Regions from separate parts of the Homo sapiens genome. Here all the other regions are linked to region 2. Evidence: promoter capture Hi-C in 16 types of primary human blood cells and fetal thymus (Javierre and others, 2016). All regions are on one chromosome and are shown on one strand. The core of a region is centred on a gene start or on the middle of the fragment in contact, and the rest is flanking DNA. Distances in the headings are between cores, read along the strand shown.

What was found. The method cuts DNA at HindIII sites, captures the fragments that hold promoters and counts their contacts. A CHiCAGO score of 5 or more calls a contact.
Region 1: a contact is called between a fragment that was not itself captured here and the fragment with the promoter of TMED7 in region 2, in 3 of 17 cell types (non-activated CD4 T cells, naive CD4 T cells and total CD4 T cells). The highest score is 6.3, in non-activated CD4 T cells.
Region 3: a fragment that was not itself captured here is called in contact with the fragment with the promoter of TMED7 in region 2 in 2 of 17 cell types (naive CD4 T cells and total CD4 T cells); the score reaches 8.0 in naive CD4 T cells.

What each region holds. Positions count from the first base shown.
Region 1 is chr5:112,706,979-112,709,978 of GRCh38, forward strand. It overlaps a transcript of APC not described here. Among named protein-coding and RNA genes, the nearest start is that of APC, 29 kb to the right of the region's middle. RefSeq lists an enhancer at 500-559. The HindIII fragment of the contact is 810 bases long and covers 944-1,753 here.
Region 2 is chr5:115,624,774-115,627,476 of GRCh38, forward strand. It overlaps TMED7 (transmembrane p24 trafficking protein 7), which reads right to left and starts at 1,263. Exons shown (of 3, transcript NM_181836.6): 1 at 828-1,263. The coding sequence starts at 1,019. TMED7-TICAM2 (TMED7-TICAM2 readthrough) reads right to left here and starts at 1,263. Exons shown (of 4, transcript NM_001164469.4): 1 at 828-1,263. The coding sequence starts at 1,019. RefSeq lists a silencer at 919-988 and an enhancer at 1,159-1,328. The HindIII fragment of the contact is 9,571 bases long and covers 1-2,703 here.
Region 3 is chr5:112,981,905-112,984,700 of GRCh38, forward strand. All of the region lies in intron 1 of DCP2 (decapping mRNA 2), which reads left to right. Among named protein-coding and RNA genes, the nearest start is that of DCP2, 6.5 kb to the left of the region's middle. RefSeq lists an enhancer at 1-73. The HindIII fragment of the contact is 7,597 bases long and covers 1-2,796 here.

The DNA.
Region 1 (3,000 bases), core at 99-2,598, 2.9 Mb before region 2:
TAATGTTGAATGAAATGAAACTGAAGAGGTAATCCAAGGTAAAGAACTTATCAAACTGTGTGAGACAAACAAGGATTTCCCGGAAGAGGTGTTTTTAAATTAAAACTACAGGGTGGTAGTGAGAGGTGGTAGGGAAGCAGAGGTCGCAGCTACAAAATAATAACTTGCTCATCTCCGTTTCTCCGCTATCTTATGAGCCCTTGTGGGGCTGGGACAGAATTTTATTCATCTTTCTATCATCAGCGTCTAGTACGGGGAGTAGCAAATAGTGAGCACTCGATAGATGTTTGCGGAATAATGGACTAGTGTGTGCAGAAGGATCTATTAACTGGGCTGCAGCACAATTCAGAGAAGGCCAGTAAGTGCTGCAACTGAGACTCGGCTGCCTAGGCAGCAATGGCTCACGGGACAGAACAGCGAAGCAGTGCCCGGCAAGCGGAGCGCAGCACCCATTGCGCCTGCGCATAACAGGCTCTAGTCTCCGGGCTGTGGGAAGCCAGCAACACCTCTCACGCATGCGCATTGTAGTCTTCCCACCTCCCACAAGATGGCGGAGGGCAAGTAGCAAGGGGGCGGGGTGTGGCCGCCGGAAGCCTAGCCGCTGCTCGGGGGGGACCTGCGGGCTCAGGCCCGGGAGCTGCGGACCGAGGTTGGCTCGATGCTGTTCCCAGGTACTGTTGTTGGCTGTTGGTGAGGAAGGTGAAGCACTCAGTTGCCTTCTCGGGCCTCGGCGCCCCCTATGTACGCCTCCCTGGGCTCGGGTCCGGTCGCCCCTTTGCCCGCTTCTGTACCACCCTCAGTTCTCGGGTCCTGGAGCACCGGCGGCAGCAGGAGCTGCGTCCGGCAGGAGACGAAGAGCCCGGGCGGCGCTCGTACTTCTGGCCACTGGGCGAGCGTCTGGCAGGTGAGTGAGGCTGCAGGCATTGACGTCTCCTCCCGGCAAAGCTTCCTCGGCTTTGCCCCGCCGCTGCTCGGGACCCTACGGTGCTCGGCCCGACTCTGTGGCTCTCTTCTCTCCATGTCTCACCCTCTCCCCTCCCCGCACTCCCCATTCAGGCCTCCAGTTGGCCCCTGGCTTTGCAGGTCCTCCATTCTCACGCAGTGGATGGGGGTCGCGACGCCCGCCGTCCTCCACCTTTCCTGGCTGCTGCTGGAGCTTCGCCCCTGCAAGTGGTGCCCCATTCGCGTTAGGTGGGTGGGTCGTCCGCCCTTCCCATTTTAGTCGCTTCCCCATCTTCCTCGTTTGGACCCTCTTGCTTCCTCTAAAAGTTTTAAACTCTCTGCCTGGGAAAATACCTGATAGCCCGGCATGTGGAGTTACAAAGAAAGGGCTGTTATCCAAAGGCCGGTGAATTTTGTTCACTTTGATGGGAGAATCAAGTCCCCAGGAGCCTTGGATGGTTAGGTCAGAGTCTGACTCCTTGACCCACCAAGTAGAGGAATGGTGCCTCTGTTGGCAAATGATTGTTCATCTAAATCATTCATTTTTTTCGGCTGTAGGAAATCTTTGGTCTCTGAACTGTTGAGGTGGGGGCGTGAGCTTTCTAGATCTAGTGAAAGAATTGGAAACTGTTATATTCGTTTTAAAAAAGAAGACCTTATGCAGTACATGTAAGACATCACTTAATGGTACAAGCAAGGATAAGTGATTTATTCTTTTATTCAGTGTTAGCTTAAATTGCCTACTGACGTCTTAGAATTCCATGTTGTACAAGCCCTTTGTTTCTATTTAGAAAGGACTAAAATGGAGAAAAGCTTTTTAAGTTCAAAACTTCTTAAATTGCTTGTATTCTCGATTGTTGTTACTGTTCAACCCTCCTTAGGAGTACTTGATATTTTCTATATGATTTAGTCTTGTGCCAGTCTCAGTACTCCCTCCTTTATTAGTGGAGCAAGGGTAGTCAGAATTACTGGTGTAAAAAACTGTCCTAAATAACGTAGTACCTTGCCAGAGTCTAAGTGCAAAATGTGGGATCAAAGCGGTAGTGGAGGAAGTTGCCATGGCTAATTTTTCCATCTTTCCCTGGATGGAAGGGTTGGATAACGTGTCAAGAGCCCCAAAATTGTAGAAGTGAGATTAAAAATATAAATGATAGCTTGCCCTTTGAAATTGCAAATGGGTGGACCTTTTTTATTAACATTAAATTGAGCAATATCGTTTTCTTGAAGTTATGCTAGATGTTCTCCAAAGTTGTTAAGCACAAACTATGCCTGCTGTATTAGAATTGTATGTTAAAAATTTTTAACGTGTGGGTTATAAATAGCCTGGCAGATTTGTTTACTTTTCATTCTGTCTCATAACACATAATCTATTTTTCCCTTTACTGTGGACTTTTGACCTTTTAATGCATTTTTAAAATTTAGAGATAGAATTGTTCAGCTTAAAAGAAGGAGGAATATTTTTATGTTTGCTTCTTGTATGGGCTAGTTCATTCGTTGCTAGCCTTCACTTTTCTGGAACCAGAGCCTGTGTGTTTTTAGAGCTGGTTGTCTCTGAATTCTCTGCATACAGTTTGAAGGGGCAGTAGCAAAGCAGGGGTTGCTGAGCCCCAATCAGTGGCTCACTGCTTCTGGCAAAATGATTTGTAGCTCTGTATCAAAAAACATCTGACCACAAACTCTTTAAAACCTCTCACTTTGGCAGGGTGTGGTGGCTCATGCCTGTAATTCCAGCACTTTGGGAGAGGCCAAAGCGCATGGATCGCATGAGTCCAGGAGTTCGAGACCAGCCTAGGCAACATGGCAAAGCCTCATCTGTACAAAAAAAAATACAAAAATAAGCCAGGCATGGTGGTGCATGCCTGTGATTCCAGCTACTTGGGAGGCTGAGGCAGGAGGATTGTTGGAGCCCGGGATGTGGAGGTTGCAGTGAGCCAAGATTGTGCCATTGCACTCCAGTCTGGGTGACAGTAAGACCCTGTCTCCTAACAAACAAACAAACCCTCTCACTCTTCCACTCTTATGGAATTTGGTATTTTTTCCTTTCTCTCTCTCTTTCTC
Region 2 (2,703 bases), core at 13-2,512:
GCTTAAAATAATTTTCCAAAGGAAGTCTTCCTTCATGGATCCTACTTACTGCTCTTAAGGCACAGTTCTGATGAATGAGCAGATACCAGTTAAGAAAAGCAGGGTGAGAGGGGAATCATGAATGATGGCAGTGACCCTATCTGTTTCGACCACTTCTGTACCACTGGCACCTAGTATTCAATAGCTACTCAAATGTTAAATGCGCCTACCAACCAAAATTGAAGCTCAGTAAAGACTGTTCTAACCAACCGAATAAACCACATTCTGTTAAAGTTTCTTTTTTATATAATCCCAAATATCAGAAGGGGCCTCTCATTTATCACAGCAATTCTTTCTACAACTCCCTTGGCAAATGGCCGTTCAACCTGTAATGGAGCTCTTCCAATGACAAGGACCGTATTAACCAACAGTCCTAATATTGGTAAAACTGAAAAGCAATGAAGTTAGACATTGGCAGCACTCCAAATCCAATTAAATTGGAGGTGTGGATTAGAGAGTAGAGGGTTGACACTGGGTACTACAGAGTATAAATGATTTTCTTTAAGGGAATCTTTTAAGGAAGAAAGTTCAATAGGCCTTAAAAATGAGATGGAAAGAAATGCTAAAGGGAGCATTTCTGGAATTCATATATTTTAACACCCGGTCTTAACATCTCTCACCCAAGGTTTATTAGAGGAAAGTCAAATGCTGGGCATCAGCTACCTAGAAGCGATTTTTGAATTAGCCTAAGAACGGGGAAACACGGACAGGAAAGTGCCATCCCTCAAGTTACACCCCCAATCCTGGAGCCGCGAGTTGGGGCCCAGGGACTGCTAGGCCCCTGATACCTGGAACTCCAGGGTGCACTTGGTGCCCTGAGCGATGTCCTCGTAGAAGCACTGCTTGGCGTTGTCAGGAAGCTCGAAGGTGATCTCAGAGGCGCCGCCGGGTCCAGGCACCAGTAGCAGCAGTGCGAGCAGCCTGCACCCCCAACGGCCCGCGACGGCCGCCCAGCGCTGCGCGGACCCCGGCCGCGGCATCCCGAGAAGGCGGCGGCGGCCTCAACCGAGCTGCGAGACGCAGGGTCAGGTCTGCGCGGACTCACCGCGCGCGGCAGGCCTCAGCGCAGGCCACCCCGCAAAGATACACAGCAGAGCAGGTTCACGCCTGTGGGAGATTCGGGATCAGAGCGACCCTCCGGCTTCCTGTGAGGGGCGCAGACGGGCGGACCTGGGGAGGTAAAAGAGAAGCGGAAAAGGCCTGAGAGGGTCGGAAGTGGGGATTAGCCTTTCGGGGGGTGAAGGGGCGGAGCCTGAGACACCGGCTCCCGTGACCCGGATGCGTTCTTCTCCGGGAACACGCGTTGGAGTGCGTACGTGGAAGCCCGCGAGGCGTTGGCTCTGCCTCCGTTGCAGCCTGGGACGAGGGGCGGGGCCAGAGTCGTGGGCGGAGAGGGGCGAGACCAGGAAACGGGGCGTGGCGGCCGCCGTGGTTACAGGCGGTTGGCGAGGGTAATTACGCTCCAATCACTGGCTTTTTTTGTTGTTTTTTTTTTTTTTTTTTTGAGACAAGAGTCTCGCCCTGTCACCCAGGCTGGAGTGCAGTGGCGCGATCTGCGCTCACTGCAACCTCCGCTGGGAACTTAGCGCTGGGGAGCATCTAGGGAGTGGTAAAGGGCTCATTTTGCCCTAGGGTGCTAATCGTTGGTGGTAGAGCGCTTTGCAATTTGCGGAGTTTTCTCATAAGTAATAATAAATATTTGGGGGAAGCAGCTGGGCAAGGAGCGCGAATTCTAAGAGCAGACTGCAGGAGTGCTTAATCCCTGCTTTGCCACGTACTGGCTGTGTGACGTCCGGCCACTTGCTTAAATTCTCTGCCTCAGTGTGTATCTGTAGAATGGAGATAATAGCACCTACCATAGAGAATTATTACAAAGTACCAATATTTGGAAAAAGTACCTAGAAGTGGTTGGTACATAGCAAGCACTAGATGAACTTTTGTTAAATTAAACGTCACAGTGCAATCAATACATTACATACCACAAGATAGGCAAAAATTTTAAGTGTAACAATAACAGATATTGGTCGACTTATAGAGCCACAAAACCTCTTATACACTGCTAGTGAAAAAGTAAATTGGTTAATCAAGTTGGAAAACAATGTGCCATTATCTAATAAAGTAGAATATATGTATACACACACAGAACACACACACCTATATACAGTGTGTGTGTGTGTGTGTGTATATATGTATATATATATATATATATATAGCCTGGAATATGTAGCCACAGCCTGGAAATTCCATTTTACATATATTTATGGAGTATATGCTTTAGAGCAGTGGTTCTCAAGTGTTGCTCTGAAGTCCCCAGAAGCCTCCTGAAACCCTTTCAGAGGGTATGTAATGATCTGTATGAAGCTGGATTTTCATTATATATTTCAACCAAAACAGCATAACAGATTGAATATCAAAGGAAATGAGCACCCAGCTTCTTCCTTAAATCTAGATATGAAAGATTTACAAAAATAAGGTCACTCTTCTTGCTAAATTTTTATTTCGAAAATATTTTTATTAAAAGATGTGTTATTTATGTAAATGTGTGCAGTGAGTTGAATTGTGTCCCCCTAAAAAATACATGTCCAAGTTTCAACCCCTCCACCCCTGTGAATATGATTTTATTTGGAAATAGGGCTTTTGCAGATGTAATTAAGTTAAGGCCCT
Region 3 (2,796 bases), core at 82-2,581, 2.6 Mb before region 2:
GGATTACAGGCACCCTCCACCACACCATTTTTTATATTTTTAGTGGAGACGGGGTTTCACCATGTGTTAGCCAGGCTGGTCTTGAACTCCTGACCTCAGGTGATCCGCCTGCCATGGCCTCCCAAAGTGCTGGGATTACAGGCGGGAGCCACCATGCCAGGCCCCTTCTGGCTATTCTTGAAATCCATTTTTTTGAGGGGAGGGGACAGTTGGCTTTCTGTTCTAACTTTGGTGTTTTTGCTTCACATTTGGACTATGATTCTGTTGTACATGTACTCCTCTCTAATATGTCCAAAGTTTCTAGCTGCTTTTTTCAACCCTTCTCATCCGCTTCCTTATCTTATCCTCAATCATACTTTCGACAGAATCCTTTTTTCCCTTTAGACTGCACTCTTGGGGACCTCCATCCTCCTAATCCAGTCTGGACTCGTTGCTCCTCAGACTTGCCTAGCAACTAGAATACTAGAATTCACTTTCACAACTCTCTGAGATGGTACTTACTCTTTCTTGAATATCATGTTTCATCCTTTCTTGGTTTTCATTCTTGTTTTGCTTGTGCGCATTTTAAGTTAATTTCTTTGAGGGGGTTCATTAGGAAGTAAACTGAGTCCTTTAATGTGTAAAATACCTGTTTCTGTTTTCACACTTAGTTCCCACATGGTCTAGCGTCCACATTTTGAGTACCAGTGTCTAGGTGATATCCTTAATACTACCTTCCACTGCTTCCGTTGGTTATAGTAATAATAGTTTTTTTTCCCCCCGAGGGCTCTTACTTAGTTACTGTACATTTAAAGAAAAATACAGTTGCTCTGAAAAAGGAATACTCTTTTAAATTTCTTTTAGGATAATAATTCCATCTTTCAACCCTCACTCCTGTTTTCTTCTGGTTCCTCAATTATGTTTTCTTCAGCGTCAGTTAAAAAACTTTCTTGTCATGCTTCACATTTTCCTTAGATGGTAGGTGATTTTTGGATGCCTTTTTATATTAATGATGAGACATTTGGGAGGTTTATTCATTAATACGCTTCTCCTTTATGTGAGTAGATAGGGAGCTGGCTCTTACACTTGAGGGTTTTTCATTTTTTAAAATACAGATAAAGCAGACTTTAAAGGATAAAGGTGGTGGTTATCAGTGTTGATTAATCAAGTTGGGCTCAAGGATTTCACAGGTCTTAAATGCCATCACACAGACTGCCATGCCAAGGGCATTCTGAATGCCAATTACAGATTGAAGTTCCTTCAGAAACCAAGATGTTATCAAAAACTGATGAAGTCTGGGTTTCTCTTCAAGTAAGACAAACACATTTCTTACATAGAGAAAATAGACTACTTGGTTCTGAAAGTTAAAACACTACGCTGAATAATTCCCCTCCCCTTCCCCACAAGTCCCTAAGGCAATATTACGGTTGCCTCTGACAGTTAAAATTTCAGCATTTCAACAGAGCGGGCTGAGGAGAACTGGGAAAAATGAAAAGCAAAATTAATGTAATTGATATGGGGGGTATTTTTTTAAAAAAATAGAGACGGGGTCTCACATTGTTGACCAGGCTGAATTTGAACTCCTTGGCTTTAGTAGCTGGAATTTCAGGCATGTACTACCATGCCTGGCAAGGCAGTATAGAAACATAAAGACTCACAGTAGGATTGACTTACGAGACCTTTCAGCACTGAAGGATATGAGTTTCCAAGTATGTATAGTCTATGGAATGACAGTGTAGTGGATCAAAAATAGACACTGCAAAATTTCACAACACTGGGGATGGAAGGAAGATATTAGAAGCATCCAGACTGGGGAAAAAAAAAGGTCATATACAAAACATTAAGAATCTGAATGGCTTTTGTCCTTGGCACAAATTAGAAGTAAAAAGAAAAAAAATCTGAATGGCTTCGATCTTCTCAATATCAAAATTGCAAGTTGGAATTAAGAACACTTTTGAAGATTCTGAAAGAAAATCATTTCCAACTTAGAATTCTTTACCCAAATTATCAAGTATGAGGATAAAGACATTTTAGATGTGTAGTATCTTAAAATATAGTATTTACCTCCCCTTTGCATCCTTCCTTCACAGGATATGTGAGGATTACTTCATGAAAACAAGGAAGTGAATTAAGGAGGATGAAAACAAAAAGACAAGACACATGACCTCTGTGGGATAAAGGCACAGGGAACTATAGGATGCTTGTGAAAGGGCAGTGTAGAGTTGACAGATGTGTACCAGGTGTAGAGGACAGCTGATCCAGACTAGAACAGATCAGAAGACTAGAAGTCTTAAAGATGAAACTGATGAATCTGAATTGTGGGGAAAAAAAATCCAAAATGAAACTGATGGATCTGAAAAGAAAATTCACAATGGAGATGATTATGTCAGAATATCCAAAAAGGAGCCAGGAGGGCATAAGGAGTTGGATCCTGGTCACATACACATCTAGATGGAGTTTCACCTGCTGAACTGGGCCAAAGTGTAAAACTAGCTGCATTTGACTTGAGTTGTATATACTGGGCCTGATCAACCGCCTGGAGAGATAACCATACCCAACTATATTGATCATTGACTAGAGACATCCTGAGCTGACAACCAGCCATCATTTATCATGGACTGTGCTAAAACCTTCCAGATACGTAAATTTACAGTAGCCCTTAAAAGCTCTGCCTAACCTTGCCTGAATGCAACATGATTTAGCTGCTTGCTAGACTTGTGTCTCCCAAATTGCAATCTCTAAAAACCTGATTAAAATGCCTTTTGCTACTCCAGTGTTGCAGTGTTGTTTTTATTTCTTAATTAAAAAAAAAAAAAA